Linked DNA regions of Homo sapiens: all the other regions are linked to region 3. The links are contacts of gene promoters, found by promoter capture Hi-C in blood cells and fetal thymus (Javierre and others, 2016). All regions are on one chromosome and are shown on one strand. Each heading gives the region's core, a stretch centred on a gene start or on the middle of the fragment in contact. The rest is flanking DNA. Distances are from core to core; before and after follow the strand shown.

What was found. The method cuts DNA at HindIII sites, captures the fragments that hold promoters and counts their contacts. A CHiCAGO score of 5 or more calls a contact.
Region 1: a contact is called between the fragment with the promoter of GPBAR1 here and the fragment with the promoter of SLC11A1 in region 3, in 1 of 17 cell types (monocytes). The highest score is 5.2, in monocytes.
Region 2: a fragment that was not itself captured here is called in contact with the fragment with the promoter of SLC11A1 in region 3 in 1 of 17 cell types (naive CD8 T cells); the score reaches 5.9 in naive CD8 T cells.

What each region holds. Positions count from the first base shown.
Region 1 is chr2:218,259,262-218,262,591 of GRCh38, reverse strand. GPBAR1 (G protein-coupled bile acid receptor 1) reads right to left here and starts at 1,577. Exons shown (of 2, transcript NM_170699.3): 1 at 1,376-1,577. RefSeq lists an enhancer at 325-1,130. The HindIII fragment of the contact is 11,967 bases long and covers 1-3,330 here.
Region 2 is chr2:218,474,825-218,478,259 of GRCh38, reverse strand. It overlaps USP37 (ubiquitin specific peptidase 37), which reads left to right. Exons shown (of 26, transcript NM_020935.3): 19 at 1,279-1,420; 20 at 3,375-3,435. Among named protein-coding and RNA genes, the nearest start is that of VIL1, 57 kb to the right of the region's middle. The HindIII fragment of the contact is 1,716 bases long and covers 401-2,116 here.
Region 3 is chr2:218,381,017-218,384,324 of GRCh38, reverse strand. SLC11A1 (solute carrier family 11 member 1) reads right to left here and starts at 2,052. Exons shown (of 15, transcript NM_000578.4): 1 at 1,950-2,052; 2 at 1,223-1,365; 3 at 1-82. The coding sequence starts at 1,956. The HindIII fragment of the contact is 6,449 bases long and covers 409-3,308 here.

The DNA.
Region 1 (3,330 bases), core at 328-2,827, 120 kb after region 3:
CAGGCTGTGGGCTGTATCATGTTCGCTGATACACAGAATTTTTCAATTAATTGCCAATTAAACATTTATATAAAAAACTATCTTTGGTTTCTATTGAAAATTCAGGTCTGGCAACACATATGTCCTGTGTGGTAGCAACCAGCCGGAGCTCACTGCTGGCTGCCCTTCGGACAGTCCCCACCCAGCCAGCTTTATCCATTTCTGGTATCTGCCTTTTCTGGGCAGCTGTGTTGAGGTCTCTTGTTTAGACTGAAAGGCGGGCCCATCCAGCCCCAAAGCATTTTGTGTATCCCTGCCTCCACCGGGGAGGCCTCTAAATGAGAGAATGGACCAGGGCTGGCTGGTGTGTAGTGGTCTTCCAGCCAGCCATTAGGTGACAGGCTCCAGCGGGCCAGGTCTCGGGCACCCTGCACCCTTCCCCCCATCTGTCCTTGTAGCCATCACAGCTCAGTGAGCAGCCTCCGGGTAGGACTTCCAGCCCATAAACTTGACTCGTCTTTGCTCCACACTAGCAACAGGGTCCTTCCTGGGAGCTGGAGGGAGGAGAGAAGCAGCTGGAGGGCACGTGTGGCAGTGAACGTGGAGATGCCAGCAGCAAGGAGAGGGACTCCCCCACACCCCCAGGCCTGAGGCTGAGCCCAGAGGAGAGGGAAGAGGAGTCTGGGCAGAGTCTGGCTTCTCTGTGGCTCTCATCTGTCCCTGTCCTTCCCGTCATTCCCTGGTCTCAGTCCTCCAGTGTCATGGCTCTGCTGCCACATCCTGGGGACAGGGGGAGGGGTCCTGGGTCCTGTGGGAACTCCTGCTTCTGTCAACAGGGGAGCAGCTGCTGTTGCTAGGATCCAAGTCAATAAGGAAAGGATTCATACCTCTCCCCTCCTCCAGGACAGGGGATCAGGGCCCCATGGCTGCCCTGAGCTGAGAGGAAGGAAGATGCTCCCCTTCCTTCCCAGGTTCCCCCAGCACCCTGAGCCTGGGCCTCCAAGGCCTTATGCCCCCTTTCCCCTCCCCTAAGCATGTTTTCTCTTTCTCAATCTCTTCCAGTGCCCTCCACCCAGGATGTCTTTTCCTCTCTAGAGGCCTTGCAGTTTCTGTTCCCTTTCCCAGGGCATCATCAACTCTCTTAAGTCCCGTGAGACTCAGGGTCCATTACCCCAAACCTGGCCTGAGCTGGAGCTCCCAGCCCTAATCGGAATGATTCCCCCCAACCCACCTCCACTAGAACAGCGACAAAGGCAGGGAGCAGCCCCCAGGGGTGATTTCCCAGCAGGGTGCAGGCTGTACCACCTGCACACCCCCGAGGGTCTGGTGGCTTGGGCTGGGTGTAGTAGCCTCTCCAGGATCTGGGGTTTGGGGGTTTGGGGGAGTAGCTACTCACATGGCTGTTGGGAGCAGGTATTGCCTGCCCAGCCTGGGCCTTCCTGAGTGTCAGGGAGTTGCTGCAGCCAGCCCTGCAGCGGTTTGGACCATGTCTGGTGTCCTGGCTGAAGAGCACAAGTGGACCAAGTGCATGGTGTCTCCACCCAGTGGGGACAGCGGGGCCAGGCTCTCCTACCCAGGCTCTGCCCGTCTGGGTTCTCAGAGGGATAGAGAAATGAGGCTGGCAGGACTCAGCCCTGGCCCCGCCTCTGGGAGGGTGGGACCTGACATATTCCAAACTGCAGCAACTGGGAGGCCTGCCTCCCCCTCCCACCCAGTTCCCCTCTCCCCCTGCCACCTAGGTGGCAGTTTCCCTACTCCAGCTCGGAGTAATCTGAGAAATGCATTCCAGTTAATGAATAATAATGATTGACTTACCCCTCCCGACTTCCCGCCTCAGCTGATGCATTTACATTTAAGCCCCTGGACTGGCCAGCCAGCTGACAGCACACCAGGCTCCCTCCACACTTCCGTGTGTGATGGTGGCAGTGGCAGGTGTTTGGGGCCTGAGGATCTTCACTCCCCCATCCCATCACCTGATGGGCCTTTCAGTTTCTAAGGCCAGACTTGCCTTCCTGAATCTGGGGTCATTCCACACTTTTCTCAACTGCTTTCTGAGTCAAGTTCTGAACTATGAGGGACAAATGGCTCTGGGGATGTGACCATGGGTAAGGTACTACTGGGCCTCGGTTTTTGCCTGTGTTAAAATGGGAACAAGAAAAACCACCTCTAATTAAGGTCGTGGTGGGGAATATCACAGGATAACACATATGGCGGCATATACCCCAGTGCATGGCCCTTGATGGGTGGGGGTTTGCCCCAACAAATGGCTCCCTCTCTTTCCTCCCCCATGATGAAGAGGCATGAGCTGGCGCTGGAATCAGAGCTGTCTGGATCCTTTTTTAAAAAAGCCAGTGAACTTGGGCAAATGACTAAAGTTCCCTTGCCTTAGTTTCCTCATCTGTCAAATGGGGCCCATAGTTGTACTCACCTATCGTGAGACTAAATGAAGTCCCGTGTGATGAGGACTCAGATCAACACTTGGCCCTTCAGCACTCCGCGACAGGCAGCGATCGCTGGGAACATTATTAGGATTTCTGCCTTTCTCTGCACCTGGCCCCTCTAAGACAGATCTGCTGAGAGGGGCGCATGGGGAGCTTGGGAAAAGCAAGAGGGGAGTGACACTCTTGCTGCACAGGGAAGCTGAGGAAACCAGATACATTGAGAGGGAAGGGCAAGTTCAAGGCTGGGAAGCCAGAAGTGGTGCTTTGATTTCCACCTTGTATCAAGTGCGGCTTTGGAGTGAGGGGGAGGAGAGAAGCCCAGCCACACTCCCTTAAGGCCTGAAATGGGAGGGAACAGGCGGAAATTGCAGCAGGAAAGCTGGGACTGGGGGTGAGACATTAGGAAACACTTGCTGGCTGAAGAGCGCAAGTAAATGGAGCAAAGGGACTCTGGTGCTCTCCGGGAGAGCTGGGCCTGAAGGGCTGGAAGCCCGTGGAGTGTGGCTGTGCCAGCTCTGCACAGCCAGTCAGGGATCCTGGAGATCAGGGACTTCTGTTGGGACAAAAAGTGGGAAGAGGAAAGCATCCAGCCTCAAGTCCATCCTCGAGGGAGCTGGTGGGTCGGAAGGACGCAGGGTTCCAGGGCCGGTCCTCAGAACCACGGGATCTGGTCGGGCAGAAGTCACAGGCTCTGGGAGAGTTCAGCCTGGGGCCTGGACAGAAGTGGGTGTGGGACCCTTCTGATATGTGACTTCCAGGAATAAACAGACCTCCTGTTCCCAGCCCCAGCCTGCTCCCTGTGGGATCCAGGATGTCTGTTTCTTCTCTGCTGCTCTGTCTAAACACTGTGTGTGGGATGTGTGTGAAGGGGGACAGATTAGGTAGTGGCAGCCAGGGAGCCTGGGCTGTC
Region 2 (3,435 bases), core at 9-2,508, 95 kb before region 3:
GTGTTCAGGTTGGAGTGCAGTGATATCCTGGCTGCTCTGAGCCACACACTATGTTTGGGCTTATCACTGACCACTTGCCTCTTTTCTTTGATCTACATTGCTATGTAATCTTCCTGATTTCCACTCTGGCCTCTTATTTCTTGGTGCCATTAGTCTATATGTTTATTTTCAGTTTTTACATTCAGGTTAATTGTATTTTCTAGTTTTCATTTTATATATATTTTTTGTATTGCATATGAATTTGTGTTAACCTCCATCAAAGAAAGTTCTTGTTCTTTGACCTTTACCACTTTTTTCTTTAGTTTATTTTCGGCTTACCTAGAAGACAACACAGTAACACCTTACTTATCTGGCATCATTAAAGGATTCCACATAAGTGAATTTTTATATAACTGAAGCTTACCTTTTAACGATTTATCTTTTAAAAGATTTTTAACAGTTTGGATGAAAATGTTTCTAAAATATGTTACACTGTTCCTTACATTCTTAAAATAACTAAGGATAATTTAAGTATATCTTAATGACTTAGAATCAGCATTTTAAGTATCAATTATTGCACTGTGTTTCAATATGATATTGCCCTCAGAGGCTCTTAATTATTACAAGATAGTTTGCTTTTACATTAAATGACTTTATAGTTCTTGTTTGCCTTTCTTGTGGTTATTCTTTCTCATTTCTTAGCTCTCATTTCTTGATGAACTTGATACACTATTTTATTCACCATTTCCTGGGAAAGAAAGGGTCCCTCTAAGTACATGGGCTTTGGAACTGCCTTCCTCAGAAGCCTTTTTTCTTACTTTGGAATCCCTATGTTCTGGAAAGTAGAGGTTGCCAGAAGTCTGACCTACAGATAAGTGGATAAGTGGAATGTTACTGTTATTTTTAAAGTGCATGGATCATAATTTAAAAGATCACAAATTAGTCTTCATGCACTTTGTTGTCAAAAACATTTATTCATTGCTATGCCTGCATGAATTCAATAGCATAATTTATAAAGACAATAGCAAATTTCATTGGGGTTGATCATTAAAAGAAAAAAGGCACAACATGATTAGTTTACTGATGATACGTAGTAGCATAAGAGTTGTCCAGTTTTCAAAGCATGGCTCTTTTGGAGTGGGGCAAAGGTAATGCTGAAATATACCTCTTTTGATATATCTTTTTTTTCTGTTAAGTAATTTTCCGTAATGGAAAAGCAATTTGTTTTGATATTTTTACAATAAAAGAATAACAAAGACAAATGTTTATCAGGCTTTTTTTTTTTTCCTTAAATTACAGGAAATTCACCTTCAAATCCAAGAGCTCCTTGGCTTTATGCCTTGATTCAGACAGTGAGGATGAGCTAAAACGTTCTGTGGCCCTCAGCCAGAGACTTTGTGAAATGTTAGGCAACGAACAGCAGCAGGAAGACCTGGAAAAAGTAAGTAATATTTTCTTAAAACATCTGACAAAGATTTGTTTATCTCTTACTGTCCAAACAAATGTCTTTCATAACCATCATCAAACTAATTAGTTTTAAAGAAAATGCCTTCTCTGGCTACAGAAATCAGTCTGTTTACAGATGGATCAAGACTTACGAGAAATTCGTTGTTCTAAACAAATTACTTTCTTTTTTTGCCCTTCAAAGCTACTTTTGCATATTCGTCCTCAAATAATTACTTGCTTTATTTTGGTAGCAGTTTTTTAAGACAGGGTATCGCTCTGTTGCCCAGGCTGGAGTACAGTGGTGTAATCACGGCTCACCACAGCATCGTTCTCCTGGGCTCAAACAATCCTCCTACCTCAGCTCCCCAAGTAGCTGGGACTACAGGCATGTACCACCATGCCTGGCTAGTTTTTAAAATTTTTTGTAGAGACAAGGTCTTACTGTGTGACCTAGGCAGGTCTAAAATTCCTGGGCTCAGGTGATCCTACCACCTCAGCTTCCCTAAGTGCTGGGATTACAGGCATGAGCCACTACTCCCAGCCTGTAGCAATTGTTTATGTGAGGGAACTGTAGTAAACATTTTACATCAACAGAGCAACCAAGTAATCTAATTGTTTAAATTATGGATTTATTAATTGGATTAATATATAGATAATTATATGGATAGTTAATACTTTGAAGATCTAAGCTTTTCTAGGTGTTTGCATTATCTTATGCTACTGTATTTTATTTTAAGCCTCCCTTTTAAATAATAGAATTATTTTAGTAGTTATTTTTGTTCTGTTTCCTATCTTACTTTAAAGCCAGAGGTAGTTTGTGGTTGTTCAACTTGAATGAGAAATGTGTGAAAGTCCAAAATTCTCCCAGAAAACAACTTTTGAATATTTACATAATCTTTTTTTTTTTTTGAGACGGAGTCTCACTCTGTTGCCCAGGCTGGAGTGCAGTGGCACGATCTTGGCTCACTGCAGTCTCTATCCCCCAGGTTCAAGTGATTCTCCTGCCTCAGCCTCCTGAGTAGCTGGGATTACAGACGTACACCACAACATCTCCCTAATTTTTGGGTTTTGGTTTTTTATTTAATTTATTTATTTATTTATTTTTGAGACAGACTCTTGCCCTGTCACCCAGGCTGGAGTGCAGTGGTGTGATCTTAGCTTGCTGCATCCTCCACCTCCCAGGTTCAGGCGATTCTCTGTCTCCCTAGTAGCTGGGACTACAGGTGCGTGCCACCATGCCTGGCTAATTTTTTTGTATTTTTAGTAGAGATGGAGTTTATCCATGTTGGCCAGGCTGATCTCGAACTCCTGGCCTCAAGTGATCTGCTGGCCTCGACCTCCCAAAGTGCTGGGATTACAGGCATGAGCCACCACGCCCAGCCTAATTTTTGTATTTTTAGTAAAGACGGGTTTTCGCCATGTTGGCCAGGCTGGTCTCAAACTCCTGACCTCAGGTGATCCACCGCTGGGATTACAGGCGTGAGCCACCTCGCCCAGCCTTCTTTACATAATCTTGATGTCGTGTTTATTTTTCTCATTTATTGTTAATAAGATCAGCTAACATTTATAATGGTGTAGTAGGCATAATGATAGAATATTTACTGTATAATCTATATATATCTGGAAGAAAATAAATTGAAAATACTTAGAGTAATTATCTCTGAGTAATCTATTTTGAATGAATTTATTTTATTATTTTTATGTATTCTCCAAATTTGTACAAAATATATACTTATTTCAATCAAGAAAAAATAATGTATTCTTATGTATTTATTATTTTTAAAGTTAGACTCACCATTTAGTTTATATATTGGTTATTGATTGTTAAATAACCCAAAGCATCAAAGAAAGGAAACTTTTTAGAAATAAAGTTGCTACTTTAAATACTAATTAAGATTGCTATATTTGTAGGTATTCTGGTTTCTTCTAAAAGTAACTCTCTTCTTCAGGATTCAAAATTATGCCCAATAGAGCCTGACAAGTCTGAATTGGAAAACTCAGGATTTGACA
Region 3 (3,308 bases), core at 803-3,302:
TGTTTCCTGGGTCCAGGAAAGCAATGCTCATGAGGAAGCCAGGCCCCGTGAAGGCCCATAGCTTCCGCAGGCTGAAGGTGCCCTGTTGGGGGGTGGGAGGAGTAGAGTGAGGGGGTCCTGGGTATAGGGATGGTGGCAGCTGGCCTTGGCCATCCCCTAGAGGAGCCCCAACAGGCTCATCAGCCCAGCCCTGCCCTCCATGGCCCATTCCTGGGTCTGCCACCCAAGGGATGGGGAGGGCATGGGTGGAGGAAGCAGCATGCTCTGATGAGTCACAGAGGATCTTTTTCTGGATCTGTTAAGCTCAGCAGCCGGCTTGCACCTGAACTGCCTGCCCCTCAAGCCCTGACTTGTCAGGTCCTCAGAGACCTCACAGGGGGCTGTCTAAGGGGGTGAGGGGGCCAAGCTTCCCTAGCCCAGCTCCTCCCTTGCCAGCTCCTTTTCAGACCACGGGGCCTCCTCTCTGTGGTCCGCTGAGGCTATGGTCCCCCCACCCTGTTCCAGAGCATGGCATATTGACTTAGAAATCTGCTGAAGATATTGGAGGCTGGGAGCGTTGGCTCGTGTCTGTAATCCCAGCACTTTGGAAGGCCGAGGTGGGTGGATCACTTGAGCTAAGGAGTTTGAGACCAGCCTGGCCAACATGGTGAAACCCTGTCTCTAGTAAAAATACAAAAATTAGCCTGGCATGGTGGTGCATGCCTGTAATCCCAGCTACTCGGGAGGCCGGGGCAGGAGAATCGCTTAAACTTGGGAAGCGGAGGTTGCAGTGAGCTGAGATCGCGCCACTGCACTCCAGCCTGGGCTACAGAGCGAGACTCCATCTCCAAAAAAAGAGAAGATACTGGAAATGCAGGTGACAGCATCCTAGATGCTAGATGCCAGCCTGCAGCCTCCTTCACTTCTCCCTATGCCCTTTCCTAAATGCTATAACATGTCCTCAAGGCTCCAATCCCAATTCCCCCTGGGCCTCTTTTCCTTCATAGGAAAGCTGAGATTCATTGAGAAAGTCATTTAATCGCTTTTAGACAAATACTGAAGCACCCCAGCTAAGCACTGGGGACGGAAGCAGGAAGGGGCAGTTGCCACTGTCCACCACTGCTGCTCAGACCTGGAAGGGACTTGCCACCCATGATCATAAGGAGACCCCATTCTCCAGCCCATGGGATCCTTCAGGATCCTGTCAATCTTGCAAGCCCCCAGGAAGTTTCCAGCATCCCACCGGTTTTGTGTCTGGGATGGGGATCTTCTCACTCAGGTAGGTCTCTCTGGGAGGTGCTTGCTGTGGCCCTGGGCTGGTCGGGCTGGTCGGGCTGGAGATGGAACCATAGCTGGACCCGCTTAGCCTTTGGGGACCCTTGTCACCTGTGGGGGCCCATGAAGCATGGTGAGTGTCCTGCCTCTTTCTGGTGGCCCAGAGTTAAAGCCGCCTGATCCTTTCCCTCCTCCTCCCGGAAAAGTGGAGAAACTAAGGTCCCTGGCCCCCATCTTGGGTCCATCACCTCCACCTCTCAAACAAACATTCCAGATGTGTGGGACATGGCAGCTTCAGAATTACTGTCCTCTCATGTGAGGACAGATGCCCAGAGGCAGATCTCCTGCCACAGAGAATGCAGAGAGACCCTAGGCTCTAAGAAGGGCAAGCTGAGGCCACATGTCTGCCCCTTGGCTGGACCCCTCACCTTCTCCGGCAGCCCAGAAAGCTCCAGGGGCTTTGATCCACGGACTTCAGACAAAGGAAAGGTAGACCGCTTAGGGGTGTGAAGGACTCCACCCAGTGAGATTGAGTCTGGTGTCCAGAACTGTGTTCTAGACTAGGACTCCCACGGGGGACCAGAGGCTTCCACAGGGGACCAAGGGCTTTCTTGCTTCCTCAAGTCTCCACCAGCCTAGTGATCTCCTCCACTCCACCCCCCAATCAGGCTCTGTCCCTAGGGGCCACTACTCACCTGTCATTGAAATGCCGACTTCAGGTACTCTGGGAGTGTGAGCGGTGCTCTGGGCAGCTCCTCAGCCTGCACCCCCTCTCTGGGCACTGGTGCAAGTAAGTGTGCCAGCCCACGCCCTGTTACCCATCCGCAGCCGAGTGCCCTGCCTCTTACATCAACATTCGGTTCACATCGGCCGATTCACACACACACACAACATGGGGCGTTGTGAAACATTTTCCAAAGGCAGAAGTGGCCAGCCCTGGCGGAAGGGTCTGGTTACCCATGGAGTGGACCTTTGTTCCCCTCCCAGCCTGCCCTGTGCCCCACAACACATCTGTTCCCCTTCCAGGCACCCCGTGTTCTGTGCCTCCCAAGTTAGCTCTGATTTCAGATGCTTCCTGCCCCTTGCGTATTCATGTCAATACCCCATGACCACACCCCCCTCTGCCACACACACACACACACACGTACACACACACGTACACACACACAGAGTCAGGTCTTTCTTATTCTCTTTGATCTGGAGTTCCAAGACCCCTCGTTGGCCTAATGCGAGTCTTCATGTCCTCAAAGGCTTCAGTTTCCCTTTGAGGGCCACAGAGGAAGGCACTGCAGAAGGGACATGCATTGAAGATTCAGACCCAGGACGTCCCCAGAAGATGGGGCACTGGGATCTGGTCCTGGTTCAACCACTGATTCACTTGAGATTGTCACCAGATCATGTCCCTTCTCAGAGTTGTTTATTCTATTCCACCCCCACCCTTTTTTTTTTTGGTTTTTCGTTTTTTGTTTTTTTTTTTAGAGACAAGGTCTCGCTCTGTCACCCAGGCTAGAGTGAGGTGTGAAGTGCAGTGGTGCCATCTTAGTTTACTGCAGCCTCAAACTCCTTTTTTTTTTTTTTTTGAGACAGAGTCTTACTCTGTTGCCCAGACTGGAGTGCAGTGGCATAATCTCAGCTCACTGCAACCTCTGTCCTCCATGTTTAAGCAATTCTCCTGCCTCAGCCTCCTGAGTAGCTGGGACTACAGGCATGCACCACCACACCCGGCTACTTTTTGTATGTATGTATGTATGTATGTATTTATTTACTTTGAGATGGCGTCTTGCTCTGTCACCCAGGCTGAAGTGCAATGGCGCGACCTTGGCTCACCGAAACCTCTGCCTCTTGGGTTCAAGTAATTCTTCTTCCTCAGCCTCCTGAGTAGCTGGGATTACAGGCACCTGCCAACCACACCTGGCTAATTTTTGTATTTTTAGTAGAGATGGGATTTCACCATGTTGGCCAGGCTGGTCTCAAACTCCTGACCTTGTGATCCGCCCGCCTCAGTCTCCCAAAGTGCTGGGATTACAGGTGTGAGCCACTGTGCCCAGCCAATT